Linked DNA regions of Homo sapiens: region 2 is linked to region 1. The links are contacts of gene promoters, found by promoter capture Hi-C in blood cells and fetal thymus (Javierre and others, 2016). All regions are on one chromosome and are shown on one strand. Each heading gives the region's core, a stretch centred on a gene start or on the middle of the fragment in contact. The rest is flanking DNA. Distances are from core to core; before and after follow the strand shown. Region 1 holds the start of RAB28 (RAB28, member RAS oncogene family). Region 2 holds the start of PACRGL (parkin coregulated like).

Evidence for each region. Contacts are between HindIII fragments. The CHiCAGO score rates a contact against its expected background, and 5 or more counts as called.
Region 2: a contact is called between a fragment that was not itself captured here and the fragment with the promoter of RAB28 in region 1, in 7 of 17 cell types (non-activated CD4 T cells, total CD4 T cells, fetal thymus and 4 more). The highest score is 22.4, in non-activated CD4 T cells.

The regions. Positions count from the first base shown.
Region 1 is chr4:13,481,722-13,486,950 of GRCh38, forward strand. It overlaps RAB28 (RAB28, member RAS oncogene family), which reads right to left and starts at 2,619. Exons shown (of 7, transcript NM_001017979.3): 1 at 2,355-2,619. The coding sequence starts at 2,429. LOC105374495 (a long non-coding RNA gene) reads left to right here and starts at 2,728. Exons shown (of 3, transcript XR_925413.1): 1 at 2,728-3,233; 2 at 4,440-4,606. RefSeq lists silencers at 2,151-2,770, 2,764-3,058, 3,021-3,080 and enhancers at 2,504-2,798, 2,594-3,501, 2,761-2,880. The HindIII fragment of the contact is 2,971 bases long and covers 1,854-4,824 here.
Region 2 is chr4:20,700,318-20,705,546 of GRCh38, forward strand. PACRGL (parkin coregulated like) reads left to right here and starts at 141. Exons shown (of 9, transcript NM_001258345.3): 1 at 141-470; 2 at 4,149-4,216; 3 at 4,343-4,497. The coding sequence starts at 4,165. RefSeq lists an enhancer at 254-373. The HindIII fragment of the contact is 483 bases long and covers 2,638-3,120 here.

The DNA.
Region 1 (5,229 bases), core at 1,369-3,868:
GGAGGAGCTAAATTTCTCTTGGAGAAACTGTTAGTCATCATCTCAATACTCTATTGCATCTGTCAGTGTGTTGAAAAATGCTCAGAGTTAGATTGAGCAGGAAAAACAAATGCCAGGAAAAAAGAGCCAAGAGTTAAATCAGGATACAAGTAAGAATGAAAGAGAGGCTGAGTTCACAAAGAAAAGAACAATAAAGGAAAAAGAATGGGAATGTTGGTGGCTGCCAAGTATTTGAGAACTGAATAGGGTATGGAGAAAAAAATTCTTGATTTAAGAATAATGAAAGAAGGTTAGGTGTCAGATGTTTGTGTCTGGAAGTTCCTGTTAGAAAAAGCTGTTACAGTTTTAAAATAAGTTATTTAGTCAAGATAATGAAGATTAAGTCAGAGCACCATAAAAAATATTAACTGTTATCCTTTGAAGCAGAATGATAATACTAATTCAAAAACATGGAAGTGAAAAAATTATCCTGTCCTATACAAGAAAAAATTTTAAACAGAGATAAAAAACCATAATTATTCACACTAAATTAGCAACAAAGAGGAAACATGTATGATAGGCTAAATAAAAAACTCAGACGCAAAATTATGAACAAATTTCACTAAGTAATATATGTACAATAAATACTGTTAGAAAAATGAACAACAGTTTAAAGAATTATGATAGCATATAGGATAACCAGCAATTTTTGTGTCTTTTTACAAATGTATTGTTATGAGTTGTCATTATCATTTTAAATGGGAAATAAGATCAGTTATGAATTGAATACAGTAAAATTTAAGAGCCAAAACCTTAGACGGCCTTCAAAAGAAAATCTAAATGATGAGAAAACTATAAAAATCTAACAAACTTTTTATTGAATAAAGGTGTTAGAAACAATGATTTATTTATAGCAATTCATTCATTCGAAAAGTTTACTAAGTATACAAAAATTAATATACTTTATAAAGAAAAGTTACCCCAAGTTCCTTTCTTCCCCCAACGTTTAAAGGTAATCAGAGCATATTGTTTTCCTCAGCTTTAAAAATCTGTAACAAAGGATCCAAGAAGACAAGAAAGAAACAAAAAAATACTTCAAATTTTGCATATAAAATTTTACATCTTTCCCAGGTGACCTCGAAACTCAAATGTCAGAACCAAAGGCAGAAGCAGGTATCTGGGCAGTGCCAACTGTCAGGGAGGATGCAAAGAGAAGTCGTCACCAGAGAAACCAGGGTCCGAAATGCAACCAGCAACAGGGAAATGTGAAGCCTTAAACAGGAAATAAAAGCCTGGGTTTCTTTAGACTATGGTTGGGATAAGGAAGGGGAGTACAGGGGTGATAAACTTTAGCAATATTCCCAGAAAGTGTTGGCGCCTTTGACAGAAGCATGGGAAAGAAGGCATCCGGGTAGAGGCTCTTCACTATTTGCTGGTGGAGGGATCATAGACCCCTCTGAGATCTTATGGACCCTCTCCCCAGAGCACGTACCGGGCAGTATTTACTCCATTTCAGGAGTTCCACAGCCTTGGGGTAGGAGCCCCTGCCTAGGAGATAATAAGACTGACGCTGCCTGATATTCTCACGCCCGCATTCATTCATTCGAACAGGGGATCCCTTTTGTCACGCAAGCAGCTCTACCCTCAGCATCCTACCCGTAACAGGAGCTCCATAAACACTTGTTGACTGACTGCTTGTATCGAGTGCTGAGCTGGAAACAGAGGTGATGAACAGGTATGATATTAAAATAGCAACTAGAGTGTACTGAGTGGACACTGTGCTCTAAAGGTTTTATGTGTATTTTCACATTTAATATGTATTTTCACATTTCTCCCTTTGCGGCGGCCCTTTTCAATACCCATCTTACAGATGAAGCTTAAACTGATTAGCAATTTGCCCTCCAATGACCCGACGACTAAGTGGCAGAGCCCCAATTCTCACCCGGGGAATACTGATTCCAGAGCTACGCTCCTGGGAGCTCACGATGCAGTAGAAGCATCAGAAACGGTAAAGGGGGTGGGAGGGGAGGAGTAAGTGTGACCCAGACTACAAGTAAGAGGAGCTAAGATGCCTTGGCAAATCCCTGCCAGTCCTGAGAGGCGGGAAGCTGAAAGGCTGGCCCGAGTCTTGCAGGAGTTCGCAATCCAGGCGGGGAGTTAGGAAGTGACTCTTTTTTAAGGGGGAGCTGGACAGCTCTCGTCGGCCTTCACCAAGCGCCCACTTCGTGTCCGGCCTCAGGCCACACAACCAGAAGGGCCCGGGCCTAGAAGCCCGAGGGCTCGGGGTAACGAGGCGACGCCGGGCGGCGGGGAGGAGGCCGGGGACCGCCGGGGTTCCTGCAGGCCTGGGACGGCGGGCCTGCTCGAGGACTGACCTTCCCGGAGGCGCCGTCCCCCAGCACGACGATTTTCAGTTGCCGGTCCTGGCTCTCCTCCTCAGAGTCCGACATGGTGTCCCGGGAACCAGGCCCGCCCCTCGAGGTGGGGGGGGAAGGGAAGGATGAAGGCTCCGGGGGCGGGGGAGAGGAGGAAGGGAGGTAGTTGCGGCAGGACCCCCGCCCCGGTGTCTCCGCGCCGGCAGGAGGTATTCGAGGAGAATCACTCGGCAAGCGCCATCTTGCCCACCTCCCCGCCCTCTGCGCGCGGCCCCGCCCCCTACGCGCACGTCGGGCGCGCGCCCCCGCCTCAGAGCCAACCCGCGCCGACCGGCGGCCCCGCCTGACGAGCCGAACCACTCGCGGCCCTGGACTGGTGTGGGGGACATTCCGGCGGGAGAGGCGAGGCGCTGCGTTTCCCTTCAGGAGACAGTTGGCTAGAAGAAGAAAAGAAGTGTTCGTTCAAATTAAGGAGAGAAAACGGGAGCAGAGCAGCTTTCAGGCGTTCCATCAAATTCCCTTTTCTCCTTCCCTCTTGAGAAAGTCTCTGAAGGGAATGGTTCAGCCTGACGGGGTGGAGCAGTGACGCCCGGGCTACGCGCCAGGGTTGCCTGGCAGCCAGGAGTTCGAGGACCGGCGGCGGGGCGGGGCCTGTCTCCGGGCACCCGGGACGCCCGTAGCCTGGCGGAGAGCGCCAGAGAGGGCCCCTGAAAAACCGGACCAGGGAAGAGGGTACCTCGGGGCGGATGAGGGGACAGCTGCTAAGGGCCGAGGCTGCTGGGAAGCCTCAGTAGCGGCCGTGAATACAGTGGAGCTCCGGCGCTGCTTATTTCGGCCTAACTCTTGGTTTCCTCATCTGAACAACCCCAGGCTCCCATGGTTCGTTCATCAGACGCTACTGATCGCCAACCTCCTGGCACCCCATCTTTACCCTAAGGCAGCAGTTCTCATAAAGTGTGGTCTAGGGACCTCTGGAAATCCCGATGACCTCAGAACAATTTTCATAATAATACGGACACCTTGTCTGTCTTTCTCACGTTCCTTCTCTCACTAGTATACCGTTTCCTGGAGGATACGCTTTGTGTACGACGTCATCACTGGCAGCTAAGGGAGCTTGCGTTTGTTGTTTTTAAACATTTCTCAGTTTTCATTTCAATGCAGTAGTGATAGGTGTAACCCACATAAACATAAGCTCTTTGGAGGTCACAGTAATTCTTTAACATTATAGAGAGGCCCTGAGTCCAAAAAATTTAAGAACTGCTGCCCTGGATAATCTCAGTCCAGGAGCGTTAGGTAAACGGCATAAATGAAATTTACAATTTAGTGAGGTAAATTCAAAAATAATAATGCTGTCCTGCTATGGTTGTTTCATTGTTAATCACTTAAAATTTATTGTTACCTTTACTACTATTAGGAATTATGAAGTATAATTATCCCCATTTTGCAGATGAAGTATCTTAAGTTAACAAAATGCTTAGCCCAGAGGCAGTAGTCTTGGAGACCATATGGGCATTAGAACAGGAAAGCAGAACAGTGTAAAGAAATGCCCAGACCTAGAGGCATCACTGGAGTTTAATCTCATGTTTACTAGATATGTGTCCTCGAGCCTCAGTTAGTTCACCTGTAGAACAGACTACTGCCTTTGTGTAGGTTTGAAAATTAAATGAAATAATCGGCATAAAGTAGATAGCACAATGCCTGGTGTGTAGTAAGCACTCAATATTAACCAGTGTAACTATCACCCTCATCATCATCATAATTAGATGATGGTCCGTGTTGGAAGTGTCACTACTTTCTAGCCAATTTACCTTATACAAGTTTCTTATGTAGAGCCTCAGTCTCTTCATCTGCAGAGAGGGCTGGCCCACAATTATAGGTACCCAGTTAAGTATTAGTACCCAATTCTTTCCCCAATCCCGCACCACCATTGCCACCACCAATTTTCTATTCACCAGATTTATTCATAAGAATTAGAAGAAAGAGGATATGTACTTGTTAGTGAGAAGAATCTACTTCCAGTGAGGACAGACTTAACCACTTCTTGTCCATGAGGGCAGTTAAAATGCAAGAAAATTTCTTTTCCAGTCTTCCTTAGATAGCTATGTGATCCACCGGACTAATGAGACAGAAGACAGTGTCCTTTGGAAGACATTTGTAAAAGAACCCTCCCCCCACCATTTAAAAAAAAGGAAAAGAAAAAAGGAGAGTTACAGGGGAGTCCTCCTCCTCCCTTCCTTTGCTGTCATTATTAGGTAAGAACAGGATTTTTGGAACTACTACACTTTGTTCACTCTATCTTCTCGGTTTCTTGTTATGGGAAATAATAATATGGTACTTTGGCGATGAATTGTGTTACCTACAAACAAAAAAATTCCAACTGACATAACTACTTCGGCCAAAAACTAGATTTAGCTGAACTCATAGGCCTGATTTTCATATGTGGTTTTATATGAAGGGAAATCTAGAAGAAAGCTTCTCATTTTCCACTCATCAATTTCTGAGATGACTGCTTTGATTGAGAGACAACATTCATTTGGATATGGGTACATCAATAGGATAGTGTTATATAAAACAAAAAGTTGCACTATTTTAGGGATCATATTTTACACATATGGCAAGTTTCTGGGTTAAAAGTTAGAATTTAAAGACTTAGAGCCATTTTTATAAAGAAAAAGAAAAAAAAACTTTCTATGTGAGGAGGACCATTTTAGCATTGAGAGCTTCCAGTATGATACTCTGACATACTAAAGAAACATAGAGCTGATCCACCAAAAAGAATATATCTTTGTGGATTCTCATGTACAATGCTCTTAACAGGGTCAAAAATTAGAGGAATGGTCTTCAGTCATTTTAAAACTAATAGACAAAAGGTTTA
Region 2 (5,229 bases), core at 1,629-4,128, 7.2 Mb after region 1:
AACTCCTGGCGCCTGGTTGCCTGGGCAACCCTCTTCTGGGGCGCCTCCGCGACCTCTTACCATTGGTTTAGACGACGCAGCGTGCGTCTGACGTCATTGCGCGGCGCGACCAGGTTCAGGGGCGGGCCGCGCGGAGCCTCATTTCCCCAAACGCAGGCGCTCGGTGGCGGTAGCCGCGGTTGTTGGCCGACCGAGTGCCGGTCATAAGCCCCCCCCGGTGGGGGGCAGCTGGTGTGCGGATCGCGGCGGGAGAGAGGCGCGGTAGGAACGGGTCCCCGGAGCCGTGAACCGCGGGTACAGGTGTCCTGTCTGCGCTCTCTGCCAAGCCGGCTTGCTTCCTGATCTGTTGCTAGGGCCGCTGGACCCCGTTGCTAAGGACCCTTGAGATCGTGAGCGCTTGGAGTGTACCCCTCCTTTCCTGGGGTAGAGGGTCAGTCGAGAGTAGCCTTCGTTAACCTTAATTGAAACTGGTAAACTCCTCCCTCGGCCCCTTTAAAAAATCTCTGTTTTTTCTTTATTTTTTTTCTGTGTCTTCCTCTTTTGCTGACTTTGATAGCATCCTGGCTCTGGACTGGTCTTTAAGTATCTAGAAGTGAGTGTAGGAGGGGTGGCTGGGAAGGTGGAAAATAGATTCTAAGACCCCTAAGCAGATTGTGCGACCCTAATACTGGCCCTTTGAATTTACTTTCTGGTAAAAAAGGGACTGGGATAAGTGACTATTGGGCTCTGGGTCTTTTAGAATTTGACAGAGCTTTACAAATGGAACATGGTTTCTTTAGTGGGGCTCTTACTTACACGTTTGGAACTTTCTAGACCTGGATTAGAAAGCAGGGCTCTGCTGACTGAGAATTGTTTTAGTTCAGTGGTCTTAAAGCTGAGTACGGGAGAAAGTACATACAGGGAAAGAAATAGGCTATATCAGCTGCCCAAACAATGATAGAAAGTACACTTTCCTACCATTGACACAGATACCGGCAGTCCCTTGTAGATAGATGACCTGTAGCAACCAAGGAAGCTTTAAGGGGAATGTGTGGGCTTCATAGGGTGGTTTGTTTGCTTTCTGATATTGTGACATAGTTTAGGTGTTCGAAGTTAAGTGGATTTATGGATTCTAATATCTATAATTAGAATGTTTATCTTGTTTTGTAAAAGAATGAGCGGTGACCTTGATAATATTTGTAACACAAAATAGTTCTTACAGGTTCGCTTCTCCCCATCACTGCCCCTTTACACCATCCTCTACATGTTATTTAATGAAAAACCACTTGAAAGGGTTACCAAGGATAAGATTTTTAAAGCTTGCTTTCACAAACAACTCATGCTCCAGGCTTGTCAGTGGCATGCTTCCAGGTGGATATTATTTTAAAAAATTGACTACATTTCCCGTCGTCCCTTGGTGTCCGTGGAGAATTGGCTCCAGGACTCCCTCCCTCCCCCCAGTCTCTTTCAGATACCCAAATCCACCCATGCCAAAGTCCTCCAGTCTGCTCTCCGTATCCGTGGTTGGGTCAAATCTATAGATGTGGAACCCGCATATACGGAGAGCCAACTGTAATTTGTCGTTAAGGTAAAGGATAAAAATTTTAAGTGAAAAAGCAATTGTTTTGGAAGGAAATTCTCTAATACAGGATTTTGAAAGGGGATGTAGACGTGTTTGCATTACTGTATGTTTAATGCTGAAAATTATATATTGTACATAAAAGTTGTCCTGTATACTCATAAACTGTAGAAGCTCGATTTTCTACCATGTTTAAAACTTTTTCAAATGAGTTTTGGTGACTTTTTGAACTCATTCAAAATATAATGCAACACCTCCCCATTAGTTTGTTACAGGAACAACTTTTTGACGTGAAGGAAGATAGAAATTTAGCCATAAAATTCCATCCAAAACTTCCACTGAATTGGTAGGTAGTATTGAAAAATGTGCATCATAATTTGATATGGCTGCCTGTGCCCTTGTTATGTTTGTGGGTACGCGTCTTTGCTGTGCATCGCTTTTATCTGTTGCAGCTGTTAACAATTGATGATCAAGAGAAATTGGACCTCAGCTGGTCTTCAAATTGATGTAGCCCAAGATGTTAAGCCAGATTTTTTAAAAATGACAAAACATGTGGTTTCACTATTAGTAATAGTAATACTGAAGAACACTTTGTACCATTGTAAAGAAAATTATAATAATAGCTAAGACTCATGTGGCCCTTACTGCATGCCTCCCATTATGGAAATGTTGTTTTACATATATTCTTACTAGTCTTCATCAACACTTAAAGTAGTTCCTGTAATTATGCCCAATTATAGAGTTGAGGAAACTGATGCATTTTTTTTTTCAATAGAAACTTGTGTTGTTCCCCCTCCAGGAGCTTCTCAAAACAGAAGTCAGGCACAATATTAAATACTTGTTGAATGATCACAGAAGTACAATAGTAGGTTAACATATTTAAAGCTTCTCTCAGCTTATTTTAGACTATTATCTGACAACTTTAATGAGATTTTAATTACCGTAGTATTAGAAAATGGCCCTGGGAATGGAGGTGAAGTGTGATACTGGGAAGTAAGTCATCTGCTGGTAGTGGGATGAGATAAATGAGATCAATGTACTAAATCAAGGAAATTGAAATTATTCAGTGTGCAGAAGCAAGCTTACATTTAGGTTATCTTTACATGGTATCAGACTTTAAGCTGGTACATCATGTTTGAGATATCTGGCTAAATTTTATAACATGGAGCTTTGTCCTCCTTTTGAGGATTTCTAACTTGTTAAGTGGATTAAAAGCATTTCATGTGAGGAATCATTTTAAAAAGTATCAGTGTTTATCCTGAAGAAGAAAAAATGAAGGAGTTAAGAGTTAATGCCATCAAATATTTGAAAAAGTGTCATTTGGAGGTGGAAGAGGACTTTACCTGTGTTGTCCTAAGGGAAGATCTTACACTATACTTGAGAGGCAGTCATTATTAAAGGCATTAAAATGAGACGTGTGCTAATAGAATAACTAGATTGTCGTGGAAGTGAGGGAACAGAGTAATCAAGTAGAAATAAGGACACAGGATAGAAATCAATGCCATAGAAATACACATTTGAGAAACCAAGATGAGGAAAGGCTTCATGGAAGTTGGGAATGAAGCTTGGCCTAAAAATACCAGTAGGCACTTGGGTATATGAGTGTGTGTGTGTGTGTGTGTGTGTGTGTGTGTGTTTGTGTGTGTGTATTTCTTGCTAGAGATACAATTGTAGAAATTGATTGGATTAGCTGGAAACCTTGGGGTATGAACTAGAGTCCTCCATTAGCAGAAAAAAAGCAACTGTGTAAGGGAAAAGTGAACCAGTATTCCCTGGGTGAGTAACTTGAGAGATAATTTCATTTGCACCTCCAGAAAACCTTGACAGGCTTTTATTTCCCTCTTTAAACAGGTCAGGAAGTCGAGGTTTAGGGAGGTTAAATAATCTGCCTAAATTCATAAATTTCATAATTGGTAGAACTGAGATGCAGACCCATATTTGAGCCCAAAGCTCTTTCTTTCTCATCACGTGTAGCATTGAGTGTAGGAAATGAAGGAAAAGGAGACAATGGTGATTCTAAGTTTTTCAGTCTGAGGACCAGAAAACTGGTGGTACCCTGGGTTAACAAGGGGTTCATAATAACTTCAGTGTGACAACCTCAGTTTTAGTTACATTCAGTTTAAGGAGCTTGTGATACATTGGGTAGGAGAGTTCATTATGTCACTGGAAAAGTAGAGCTTGATGTGCACATGTTAACATTTGGAGCTTTGGAAATACAGAGGCCAGAGAAGATGGAGAAGATGACAGGGAATGTACCAACCACTCCTTTCAGAAATCTAGTCTGTGTTTTCTAATGTGGTCAGAGAATTGGAAGTGAGTTTCTAACAGTTTATTTTGACAATTTGAATGGAAAAAAAGTTGACTTTTGTACATCATTTCTTGGAGATGATTATTTTGCTGTTATTGATACTATTGAAGTTGACATAATTTCATGTTTTCTCATTAGTCTTTTCCAGTATTTTGCTCCATATCAACTTTTTTGTGTGTCTTTTACTGTATTGTATACTCTGTTCTGGTTTTGTCTTTTTATTGATAACAAATGCCCCTCCAAACAAATTTTGAAATCAACTTTTTTTTTTTTAAACTGCAGGAGTGAAAGGGAAGCAATGCAGAAATCAGAGGGCTCTGGAGGTACACAGTTGAAAAACAGAGCAACAGGTACAGAGCTTTTGTTTTTAAGTGAAGAGGTCAAGTTTGTTCATGGCACTTTCTGTGCTACAGATGGATGCAGGGTGAACTTTATTGCTTGTACCTGGTTTCTATTGATGTTCTGTTTTTTTCCAGGTAACTATGATCAAAGGACATCATCAAGCACACAGTTAAAACACAGGAATGCAGTTCAGGGAAGCAAATCCTCATTGTCAACCAGTTCTCCAGAGTCTGCAAGAAAACTTCATCCTAGACCAAGTGATAAACTGAACCCTAAAACAATTAATCCGGTAGGTCCAAAACTATTCCTAACTCAGTAGATTTTTTAAAGGCATTTCGCACAGTATTGAACAATGCTGGATGCTGTGTTGAGTTTTGTCCCTTTGCTAGTTTTGAGCTAATAATGAGAGAAGGGCATGTGGTTATTATGATGAAGAACTGAGATAATCAGTCACATGTGGGAGTGAGTATGGAGGTAAGGAGACATAGAAGTTAACCTGTTTGGGATATCGCATTGTAGTGCATAGAAAATTGCACTTTAGCTTTAGATTTTATTTGCAGTGTTGTTTTACTTCCCCATATCAATGAATAAACTGTATTCAGTTGCCACAGAATGCTTTTCGTGCTTCTATAGTTGCATAAAGGTCTCTGACCTTTCCTGTGTTCTGTAAATTAGTTCCACCAGAAATCCTAGTTGTAGTACTAACCTCCTTTGCCCTCTCCTAACAATTTAATGAGATTTAATAAACATGGGATTTATGCAGTAAAAATATTCAGAAGTGAACACACCTGTGCAACAACACCAGGTGTTATTTGCCCCATGCCCAACTTTGGTAGGGTGAGATGTTAGTGATTTCAGCCTTCGAAGGGGATTGTGAGGGTGGCTGAAGCTCCTGACTGACTGTGGTGGTAGGTAGGGGTATGGCAGTTACTTAAGGAAGCAAAGGTATAGTGAGCTCTCCAAGACAGAAGGAGTGTCCGACTGGATAAAAGCAAAGTGACAAATAGTTTGAGCGGCTATG